Regions from separate parts of the Homo sapiens genome. Here region 2 is linked to region 1. Evidence: promoter capture Hi-C in 16 types of primary human blood cells and fetal thymus (Javierre and others, 2016). All regions are on one chromosome and are shown on one strand. The core of a region is centred on a gene start or on the middle of the fragment in contact, and the rest is flanking DNA. Distances in the headings are between cores, read along the strand shown. Region 1 holds the start of GOLM2 (golgi membrane protein 2). Region 2 overlaps EIF3J (eukaryotic translation initiation factor 3 subunit J).

Evidence for each region. The method cuts DNA at HindIII sites, captures the fragments that hold promoters and counts their contacts. A CHiCAGO score of 5 or more calls a contact.
Region 2: a contact is called between a fragment that was not itself captured here and the fragment with the promoter of GOLM2 in region 1, in 3 of 17 cell types (erythroblasts, megakaryocytes and endothelial precursors). The highest score is 10.0, in erythroblasts.

The regions. Positions count from the first base shown.
Region 1 is chr15:44,286,902-44,292,095 of GRCh38, reverse strand. GOLM2 (golgi membrane protein 2) reads right to left here and starts at 3,377. Exons shown (of 10, transcript NM_138423.4): 1 at 2,740-3,377. The coding sequence starts at 3,066. RefSeq lists a silencer at 3,101-3,460 and enhancers at 3,271-3,565, 3,961-4,030, 3,412-4,318. The HindIII fragment of the contact is 5,453 bases long and covers 1-4,072 here.
Region 2 is chr15:44,545,218-44,550,411 of GRCh38, reverse strand. The region is part of intron 2 of EIF3J (eukaryotic translation initiation factor 3 subunit J); the gene reads right to left. Among named protein-coding and RNA genes, the nearest start is that of EIF3J, 11 kb to the right of the region's middle. The HindIII fragment of the contact is 1,478 bases long and covers 2,431-3,908 here.

The DNA.
Region 1 (5,194 bases), core at 2,128-4,627:
TAAAAGTAGTTAAGATACCCAGGGCAATATTTCCCAAACTAGTGGGCTTTGCTATATTATTCTGTGCCATAATAGGTAGGCCATGAAAATAGTAACCTGTGATCAAATAAACTAAACAAGACTGAGTTAAACAAAATTGAATAGCCTTCTTTATTAATGGATTTCTCAGAGCTTTTATATTCCAGCAGGCATTATGAATTCCAAGAGGAGGATACACTAACATTTCCCTCCAAAAAAGGTTTTCATTTTTTTCTCCTCACCACCTAAGAAATATTACAAGAAGGGTATTCTGTTTAACACTACTTTGGGGAATACTGCTCTTATGGGAGAGCAAAGGCTCAATAACAGAGTCCCTTACTAGGTGACTGGAAAGAAAAAATAAATCCAGCAAAGAATATAGTGAAGAAGATAAGACTGGAGAGTCCAGTATAACAGAAGCAAGAAAGAAAATAGTTTCCAAATAGCTAGAGACAATCAACAGGATCAAACTACTGGGAGGTCAAATACAGTAAGAATAAAAATATTCTTTGGTTTTGACTAGGAAGACTGCCATTTGTGACCTTCAAGAGAATAGTTTCAAAAAAGGGGAGGAAAGAAAGATGGCAGACATTTTAAGATTAGGATGGTTATGAAAAAATAGGTAGATGGAACATTTGTAGACCATCAATAATTTGACTTTAGCAATGAAAGTGAAAAAACAAATGGGTTGGTTGGGAGAAAGGAATATACAGATTTTTTTTCCTTTACTGAGAACAGGGGACACCCACATACTGTTGAAGGTAAAAAGTGAAACAAACTGAAAGAGACAGTTCAGTAGAGCTGGGCAAGGTGGTGCACACCTGCAGTCCCAGCTACTCAGAGGCTGAAGCAGGAGGATCACTTGAGCTCAGGATTTCAATGCTATAGTGCATCATGCCTGTGTAACAGCTACTGCACTCCAGCCTGGGCAACACAATGAGACCCTGTCTCTTTAAAAAAAAAAAAAAAAAAAGAGGCTGGGCATGGTGGCTCACACCTGTAATCCCAGCACTTTGGGAGGCTGAGGCGGGCGGATCACCTGAGGTTGGTAGTTCAAGACCAGCCTGACCAACATTGAGAAACCCCTTCTCTACTAAAAATACAAAATTAGCCAGGCGTGGTGGTGCATGCCTGTAATCCCAGCTACTCAGGAGGCTGAAGCAGGAGAATTGCTTGAACCCCGGGGGGGCGGAGGTTGCAGTGAGCTGAGATCACGCCATTGCACTCCTGCCTGGGCAACAAAAACAAAACTCCGTCTCAAAAAACAACAACAACAACAACAACGACAACAACAAAAAGTCCAATGGATGAAAGAATGGAATCAAGAGTATTAATTACAACAAGAGACTTTCCTTTGAGACCAGAGAGAAGAATGTGAATTGTAATGCTCAACCATGCCAAGTAGGAAGACCTTACTTTAATACTCCAAACTTTCATGGATTTCTACCTACTCTGCCCGAGAGTTTTTCAGTCTTTAGAGTTAAGCATGCAGCGCACATATAAATGTACTGATTCCTTGACCCTATCATAGCATGTCTATGTTATGGTGAAGAGGAGGGGGTTATAGGGAAGCACTTAGCTGAGGGCCTTAATCTTCATGAAATAAGAAAGCCAGGTAGAGGCTGTCAACAGGAAAGTTAGAAGCTCACAGACAGTTTAATTCATAATGACTTACCCTTAAGTGATTTTGATATGCAAAGTAAAACTTGTAATTATAATGGGCATTTACACACAAAAATGTGAAGATTACCAAAGAAGTGTATAGAAAGGCATCTACTATCCTGCCCAGAAATTTTCATAACTCTACTATACCTACAGAAGTTGCTAAGTCATAAACTATTAATATAGTTACCAATGAGCTAATGAAAACAAGGATTATTTAGTAGCAAGTATGATTACAGTTCAATTTTAAACTTTTTATATTTAAAACTTTGTATAGTTTTCCATCTGCATAAAACACCAACCCTAATAGCAACTTAGCTATACAAAATTTCATTCTATTTTCTTTCAATGAAGACACTGACATGACATTCCACTGCTTAAAATTTATTTTCAGATTCTAATCTTTTGGCTGATTTCATTAACAATTCAAATTGAGTAGATAATGATGGATCAACTATGTCCAAGACACAAGTGTGTCTCACATATAGCTCGAGGGCCCATCTATCATAACATTTTGATCACAAAAAGGCAGTCATAGCTGATTATTTAGTTATTCAATACATCACCCTATAGAGATTTTAAAAGTCACACAGCTTAAAAAATATATGATGACTACCATAAGTAGAGGAGTCAGAGGCGGCTTCGTTCTTTAAATAACGAAATTAATATTGATCAGTGTGCACGGAATAAAAATGAGACAATAACCACACCAAACCTGGCAGTCGCCAGATTTGTGTGTCTTTGAAGGTAAGGGGGCCACACAGGCCAGATGATTACTACTGCCAACTCACCAGCTGAGCTTAGAGAATAGGCAGCATCTGCACACAGTCCACTCTTGAGAACCAGAATTTACAGTCATTTTTTTCTGGCAGGGACCAGAGAACGTGGCACTGATAAACTGGGAAAAGTCTGACAGAAACAGGGTTGTTGGGGGTGAAAGGAGCCTTCAGGACTGAAATACTGGAAGGCATAAGACAACAGCTAGCGGATTAACATCCCGCCCCAGACCCCGGGGAGAAAAGAAACCATGGGGTTTGAAGAGAAAAGGGTCGTCCTTACCTTGTCATCCTCGCATCTCTTCCCGAGGCCCTCTCTGGCCTGCAGCCGGCTGCTGAGGCGGCCGTAGTCGGCCTCCTTCTGGTCGATCTGTTTCTTGTGCGTGTCCACCAACAGCAAGAGGTCCGAATTGCGCTTTTCCAGCCGCCCGCGGGCCACTTCGGTGCGCTGGACCTGGCCCTGCAGCTCGGCCACCTCCTCCTGAAGCAGGACGTGGCGGGAGGAGATGCTCCAGTAGTTGAAGGCGAGGACGACGATCACCACCAGCAGCACCACCAGCACGAGAGAGGGCAGGCGGCCAGCCCGCCGGTTGGCCCCGAAACCCACCATGGGGCCAAATCGGGCTGTACCCTAGGGGCCTCGCCGCAGACACCTGCAGGCAGAAGCCCAGGCCTCGGCTGGAGTTGCCCGGCGGACACGGCCCCAGGGCCGGCCGAGGGAGGAGGCGGGCTTACCGGTCGGCTGCGAGCCGGAGAAGGGGGCGGGGCCGCAAGCCGCAGGTCCCTCCCCGCCCCCCTCCTCAAATCAGGCCAAAACGCGTTCCGGAGGCTTTGAACCCGACCCTGCACCTGCCCAAGGGAACCGGGAGAACCCAGCTGCCAGCGTCCCCCAAACCCAACACCTCACGGTTGGGAGGCGGGGAAAAAAACCGGAAAGGGGCGGATGTACCCTGGCCCCACCCACTAGCTGGGGCCGGGTCGTCTAGGGGACCATTTCCGAGTTTCCGTCGACACCCCTCTTGTCGCGAGAACGTTGCTTCCTCTCGTCTCTCTCTCTCTCTCTCTCTCTCTCTCTCTCTCTCTCTCTCTCTCTCTCTCTCTCTCGCTCTCTCGCTCTCTCGCTCTCTCGCTCTCTCGCTCTCTCTCGCTCGCTCTCTTTCTCTCTCTCTCTCTCTCTCTCTCTCTCTCTCTCTCTCTCTCTCTCGCTCTCTCTCTCTCTCGCTCGCTCGCTCTCTTTCTCTCTCCCCGCCCAGAGTTTTCTCTGTCGCGTAGGGTGTTGTGTTAATTTTGGCGGTCTCAGATGTCTCAGGTACCTGGGTCGGAGTCCTTTCTGTTGTTATCTACTGGATTCCCTTGATTCAAGGCCTAGGGAGTTCCTGCCCTACACTGGCCCTCGCGAAAATATTTGTCTTTGAGGACGTCTGGGGCTGCGACCGCGGAATAGAAAAAAATAGTAGGTGAGCTGCTGCCAAAAAGGAGCGACTAGAAAGGTTTTGTACTTGCTTCTGTAGAAGGGGAATTTCTCTTTTGTGCTAATGATGTGGAAAGAAAAAACAAAAAGACTGTAAAATAGCGATGCCCTAAACATAATGGAGAAAAGCGGGAGAAACCAAGCTTTAGGACTGAAAGGGGTGGTGCCAGTCTCGTTTCCTAGGTTACTGCTTTCACGAACCGAAAGAATTTCAGAATGTGGCGAGCTCCAATTTTTAAACGCACTGCTGCTTTTGCCTCAGCTGGGCTTCCAAACAGAAAGTCCAGAAGCTGCCCTCGATGAATCGTAACTAATGCACTGTTACTGCCAGCGAACACATTCCGGGTTAGAAATAATAGCTCTAACAAATTGTTTTGCGCGCCTAGTCTCATATTATCTTCTCAACAACGCAATTTTACAGATGAAGAATCCAAGACACATAGATGTTTGGGAACTTTCTCTTATCTGGTTTTAAATAGGCTTGAATCCAGATCATTGAACTCTAAACACCAGTGCTGTCTGCATATAGCAGATTGTTTATATGTTAAGTGTGAATTTCAGTAGTGCAAAAAAAAAAACAAAACCTGCCTCTTTTTTTTTTTTGCATAATTATTTTGTCCGTGCATAGAGAAATAAAAAGGTACTGGCTCTAACCTGTTTAAGGAGAGGATGGGGTTGCCTTATTTTTCAGACCTCAGGTTGAAGAACTTCCATGAGTATAAAACCTCAAGAAGGAAAAACCTTGGTATTTTTTATTCGAATCAGAGTGATATGATTTTGAGGCAGGAAGACTTGTCATCTTAATTATTCTGTGCTTCCTATCCTCAAAAATTATTTCCCTAAGTCCCGTAGTAGCGTAGAATTATTGCATCTTCAAAGAACAATGATTACTCTCTCAGATGCAGTACAGAAAACCACCACCAAAATTATTAATACTTGGTTCACATCAGAAGTGAGCTCTGGCTTCATAAGATCTAACAAATCCTCTCCACTCTCAGATGACAAGCCGACTTTGGCAAAAGGAAGCAAAGCAAAAATGAGAAATCATTAACTATAAAGAGCCTTTCCATCTCTGCTTTCCTCAACTCATATTGGCCTTGCTCTGCTCAACCAGCAATCGAAAATTATTCTAGGCCGGGCGCGGTGGCTCACCCCTGTAGCCTCAGCTACTCGGGAGGCTGAGGCAGGAGAATCACTTGAATCGGTGAGGCAGAGGTTGCAGTGAGCCGAGATCGTGCCATTGCACCCCACCTTGGGCAACAGAGTG
Region 2 (5,194 bases), core at 1,920-4,419, 260 kb before region 1:
GCTAAGGTGGGAAGATCACTTGAGCCCAGGAGGTTAAGGCTGCAGTGAGCTATGATAGTGCCACTGCACTCTATCCTAGGCAACTCACTATCATAAAAACCCTGTCTCAAAACAAATAAACAAAAATGACTATTGGCTTTTTTATATGTTAATATCCTGCTACCTTACTGAATTCATTTATCACTTAAGTTAGATTTATCGTTGCTTCTCTAGGGTTTTACAGGTATGCTACCTTATCTGCAAACAAAAGATAGCTTTACTTCTCTACCAATCCTTAGGCCCTCACAAGTGATTTACCTAATTGGGCCAGCTAAACCTCTAGTGCAATGTTGAACAGCAGCAGAAGTAATGGGCATCCTTGCTTTCTTGATGGAAATGCCTCTATTGTTTCCCCATGAATTGCTATGCATCCCAACAAATTTATGCAATAAAATTTACCAGACTTTTTTTTTTTTTTTGAGACGGAGTTTCTTGCCCAGGCTGGAGTGCAATGTCACGATCTCAGCTCACTGCAACCTCCACCTCCTAGGTTCAAGCGATTCTCCTGCCTCAGCCTCCCCAGTAACTAGGATTACAGGCATACACCACCATGCCTGGCTCATTTATTTTTAGTAGAAATGGTTTTTTTTTTTTTTTTTTTTTTTTTTGAGACGGAGTCTCGTTCTGTCGCCCAGGCTGGAATACAGGGACGATCTCAGCTCACTGCAACCTCTGCCTCCCAGGTTCAAGTGATTCTCCTGCCTCAGCCTCCCGAGTAGCTGGGATTACCAGCACATGCCACCATGCCTGGCTAATTTTGTATTTTTAGTATAGACAGGATTTCACCATGTTGGTCACACTGGTCTCGAACTCCTGATCTCATGATCCGCCCGCCTCGGCTTCCCGAAGTGCTGGAATTACAGGCGTGAGCCACCGTGCCTAGCCCCAGTCTTTTCTTTCATTGCCTCTGGATGGATTTCAAGTCAATTAGAAAGTCTTTTCTTGTTTTTTTGTTGTTTTGTTTTGTTTTGTTTTGTTTTTGAGTTGGAGTTTTGCTCTGGTTGCCCAAGCTGGAGTGCAATGGCATGATCTAGGCTCACTACAACCTCCACCTCCCGGGTTCAAGCAATTCTCCTGCCTCAGCCTCCCAAGCAGCTGGGATTAGACATGCACCACCATGCCTGGCTAACTTTGTATTTTTAGTAGAGATGGGGTTTGTCCATGTTGGTCAGGCTGATCTCGAACTCCCAACCTCAGGTGATCCGCCCACCTCAGCCTCCCGAAGTGCTGGGAGTACAGGCATGAGCCACTTCGCCCAGCCAGAAAGTCTTTTCTTACACCTAAGAATTCACCCACAATTTCTTCTAGAATGTATAGGGTTTCATTTTTTTTTTTATTTAGATCTCTGATTTGGAGTTTTTTTCTTGTGTTATGATATGCAACATGGATCTAATTTCATTTTTTTCCCAAATGGCTACCCAGTTGTCACAGCATCATTTATTAAAAACCCTTTAATAAATAATGGTTTTTTTCCCTGGGCTATGGTTTGAATGTGTCCTCCAAAGTTCATGTGATGAAATCTCCAATCCAACAGTGTTGAGAAGTAGGGTCTTTTAGAAATGATTAGAGGCAAAGCCCTCATGAATGAATTATTAATACCTTTATATTAGGAGTAGATATCTGATAAAAGGATGAGTTCTGACACCTCCTGCAATCCTTTGTGCTCTTTTGCCCTTCTGCCCCAGGATAATAGAGCAAGAAGGCCCTCGCCAGATGCCAGCACCTTGATACTGGACTTCTCAGCCTCCATAACCATAAGAAATAAATCTGTTGTTTATACAATACCCAGTCTATTGCATTCTATTGCAGCAAAAAACATTTTAAGATACCTTGTGACTTACCATATACTAAATTTTCATATGTACTTGGTCTATTTCTGGGCTTTTGATCCTATCCCACTAGTCTACTGTCTCTCCATATAACGGTACCATACTGGGTTTTTTTGGTCTTGTTTTTTGAGACGGAGTTTCACTCTTGTCGCCCAGGTTGGAGTGCAATGGCGCGATCTCAGCTTACTGCAACCTCTGCCTCCTGGGTTCAAGTGACTCTCCAGCCTCAGCCTCTGGAGTAGCTGGGATTACAGGTGTCCACCATCATGCCGGGCTAATTTTTGTATTTTTAGTAGAGACGGGGTTTCTCCATGTTGACCAGGCTGGTCTCGAACTCCTGACATCAGGTGATCCTCAGCCTCCCAAAGTGCTGGGATTGCAGGCGTGAGCCACCATGCCCAGCCGGTACTGTTTTAATTACAGAGGCTTTACTTTAATGTCAGCTAGAGCTAGTCCTTCCTTGTAGGTTTTCAGATTTTTTAGTGTTTTCTTGGCCTTTCTTGCATGTTTTGTTTTTCCATATGAACCCTCATATCAACTTATCTAACTTCATAAGAAAGCTTCTCCATTAGCAGTTAGGACAACCTAGCTGAAATCAATAGCCTCTCTGAAAGTGATTCAGTTATTAATAAATAAAAACTGAGAGAACTTTATAGTTCTTACTTCCCCCCAAATGTAAAAAGCATCCTATACTCTGGCCAATAGCTCATTTATTTCAAGTAGTATTCCATACAACATAAGCCTGGTTAATGAATTAAGTCTATATAATTCTAAAGCCCACTATTAAAAAGGAGTCAGGCCGGGTGCGTGGCTCATGCCTGTAATCCCAGCACTTTGGGAGGCTGAGGTGGGCGGATCACGAGGTCAGGAGTTTGAGACCAGCCTGGCCAACATAGTGAAACCCTGTCTCTACTAAAAATACAAAAAATTAGCTGGGCGTGGTGGCAGACACCTATAATCCCAACTACTTGGGGGCTGAGGCAGGAGAATCACTTGAACCCAGGAGTGGGAGGTTGCAGTGAGCCAAGATTGTGCCACTGCACTCCAGCCCAGGTGACAGTGCGGCGAGACTTCGTCTCAAAAAAAAAAAAAAAAAAAAAAAAGAATCAAGGCCGGCTTACGCCTGTAATCCCAACACTTTGGGAGGCCAAGGCAGGCAGATCACCTGAGGTCGGGAATGCAAGACCAGCCTGACCAACATGGAGAAACCCCGTCTCTACTAAAAATACAAAATTAGCTGGGTGTGGTGGCACATGCCTGTAATCCCAGCTACTCGGGAGGCTGAGGCAGGAAAATTGCTTGAACCCAGGAGACAGAGGCTGTGGTGAGCCGAGATCGCGCCATTGCACTCCAGCCTGGGCAACAAGAATGAAACTCCGTCTCACAAAAAAAAGTCAACAGCTAATCAAGCCTTCATGGATCCCACTCTCTAACTCAGGGCACTTTAATCCCAGCACTTTGGGAGGCCGAGGCAGGCAGATCACTTGAGACCAGGAGTTCCGAGACCAGCCTGGCCAACATGATGAAACCCCGTTTATACTAAAAAATACAAAAATTAGGTGGGCATGGTGGTGCACGCCCGTAATCCTAGCCACTCAGGATGCTGAGGAACAAGAATCATTTGAGCACAGGAGGCGAAGCTGCAGTGAGCCAGGATCGAGCCACTGCACTCCAGCCTAGGCAACAGAGACTCTGTCTCAAAAAAAAAAAAAAAAAAAAAAAAAAAAGATCTATACTCTGTTTTTTCTATGCCTAACTCAATCATTGAGCTAAATATAAACCAATTATCAAACACAATTTTCTAAAAGCTCCACAGAACTTAGAAGGCTCAAGTTTAATAGGGACAGACACAGCCCTATGATTAAAGATGGCTTTAATCATAGGTAGCCTGGCCATTGTCTCAGCAGCCACCAGGCACACTATGACATGCCATTTGAAGCTGAGTGGCAAGATGGCAAAAGCAGGGCAAGAGGCCCTGATGCTACTAAAGAAGCAAAGGCTGACTAGTATGACTAATATGCCACAATATGACACCAAGCTTCTGGTTTCATAACACGACAGATCACAAATTTGTATCAGTCTAGGAATATAAACTAACCAAGCCTTGGTTCTTAATAAAAATCTCTAAGTCCAGTAAAGAAATTAAAAATTCAACATCCTGATTAAGGCTGTCATACAGTCTGCAAGCATAATTAAAGGAACTTTGTATTAAAAAGTAAGTGTATTTTTATATTCATCTTACTTCAGCAATTTAACCCACAGCTCGCAGTTTTAACAGATTGAAAGCAAACCAGCTAGTCATTATTTGAGTAACTGTGATACTAGAGTTAGAAATTAGAGATCAAACGTTTGTATTTCGCCGTTAGTTTGCTAAGTGCTATACATCACAGTACAAAAGGAACCAAAGAGCTAAAAATAAAAGTGAATTACTAGGCATTTTTTGTTGTTTAAATCTTCACAGAACACAGGAAGGCTGGATCTGTGAGTGATAGGGGGCAGTGTTTCAGATAGGAGGACCATTTGCTTACTTCCAGAAGATGCATATTTAAAACCCTTCTGAGAAACAGGTGTAGTAACAAGGTTAATTCTCACAACAGTCCTGTAAGAAGGTAGTGTTATTCCCCCATTTTAAAGAAAAGGAAACCCAGGCCCAGACATAGCCAACCCACAATCTCAGTGAAAAACTAAGGGACCTGCTCTGAATGGACCAAAGTTCTTTAAAGTGTCATAGGTATAAAGTTACAGTTAGAAGAATAAGTTCTGGTGTTCTATTACACAGTACGGTGATTATAGCTAATAACAATGTTATATATTTCAAGATAGTTCCATAAGAAAATTTTGAATGTTAACACCACAAAGAAATGATAAATGTTTAAAGTGATGAAATGGTAATTACAATGTATACATGCATTGAAACATCACAATATACCCCATAAATATGTACATTATTTGCCAATTATAAAAACTAATTTTAAAAAAGTTTTAAATAACTAAACATTTGACTGACCTTTTTATTGAAAATAAAATGATTTACTTTTTTAAAAAGCATGTTTTAAACACTTGCTTACAAAGTTCACGGTTTAGTAGAGTTCAATTCACTGTAATAAAGCAGCTTACAACACATCTTTAGAGTAACATGCTGAGATACATCCTTTAAATGTATACATGTAAACAGCTTCATTTAAGGCTTTAAACACAATGTTAAGGAAGGTCTTTAAAAAGCATGTTTTAAACACTTGCTTACAAAATTCACAGTCTGGTAAACAATTTAATTCGCTGGAATAAAGCAATTCCAATGCAATTCCAATGCAAAATAATAAAAATAA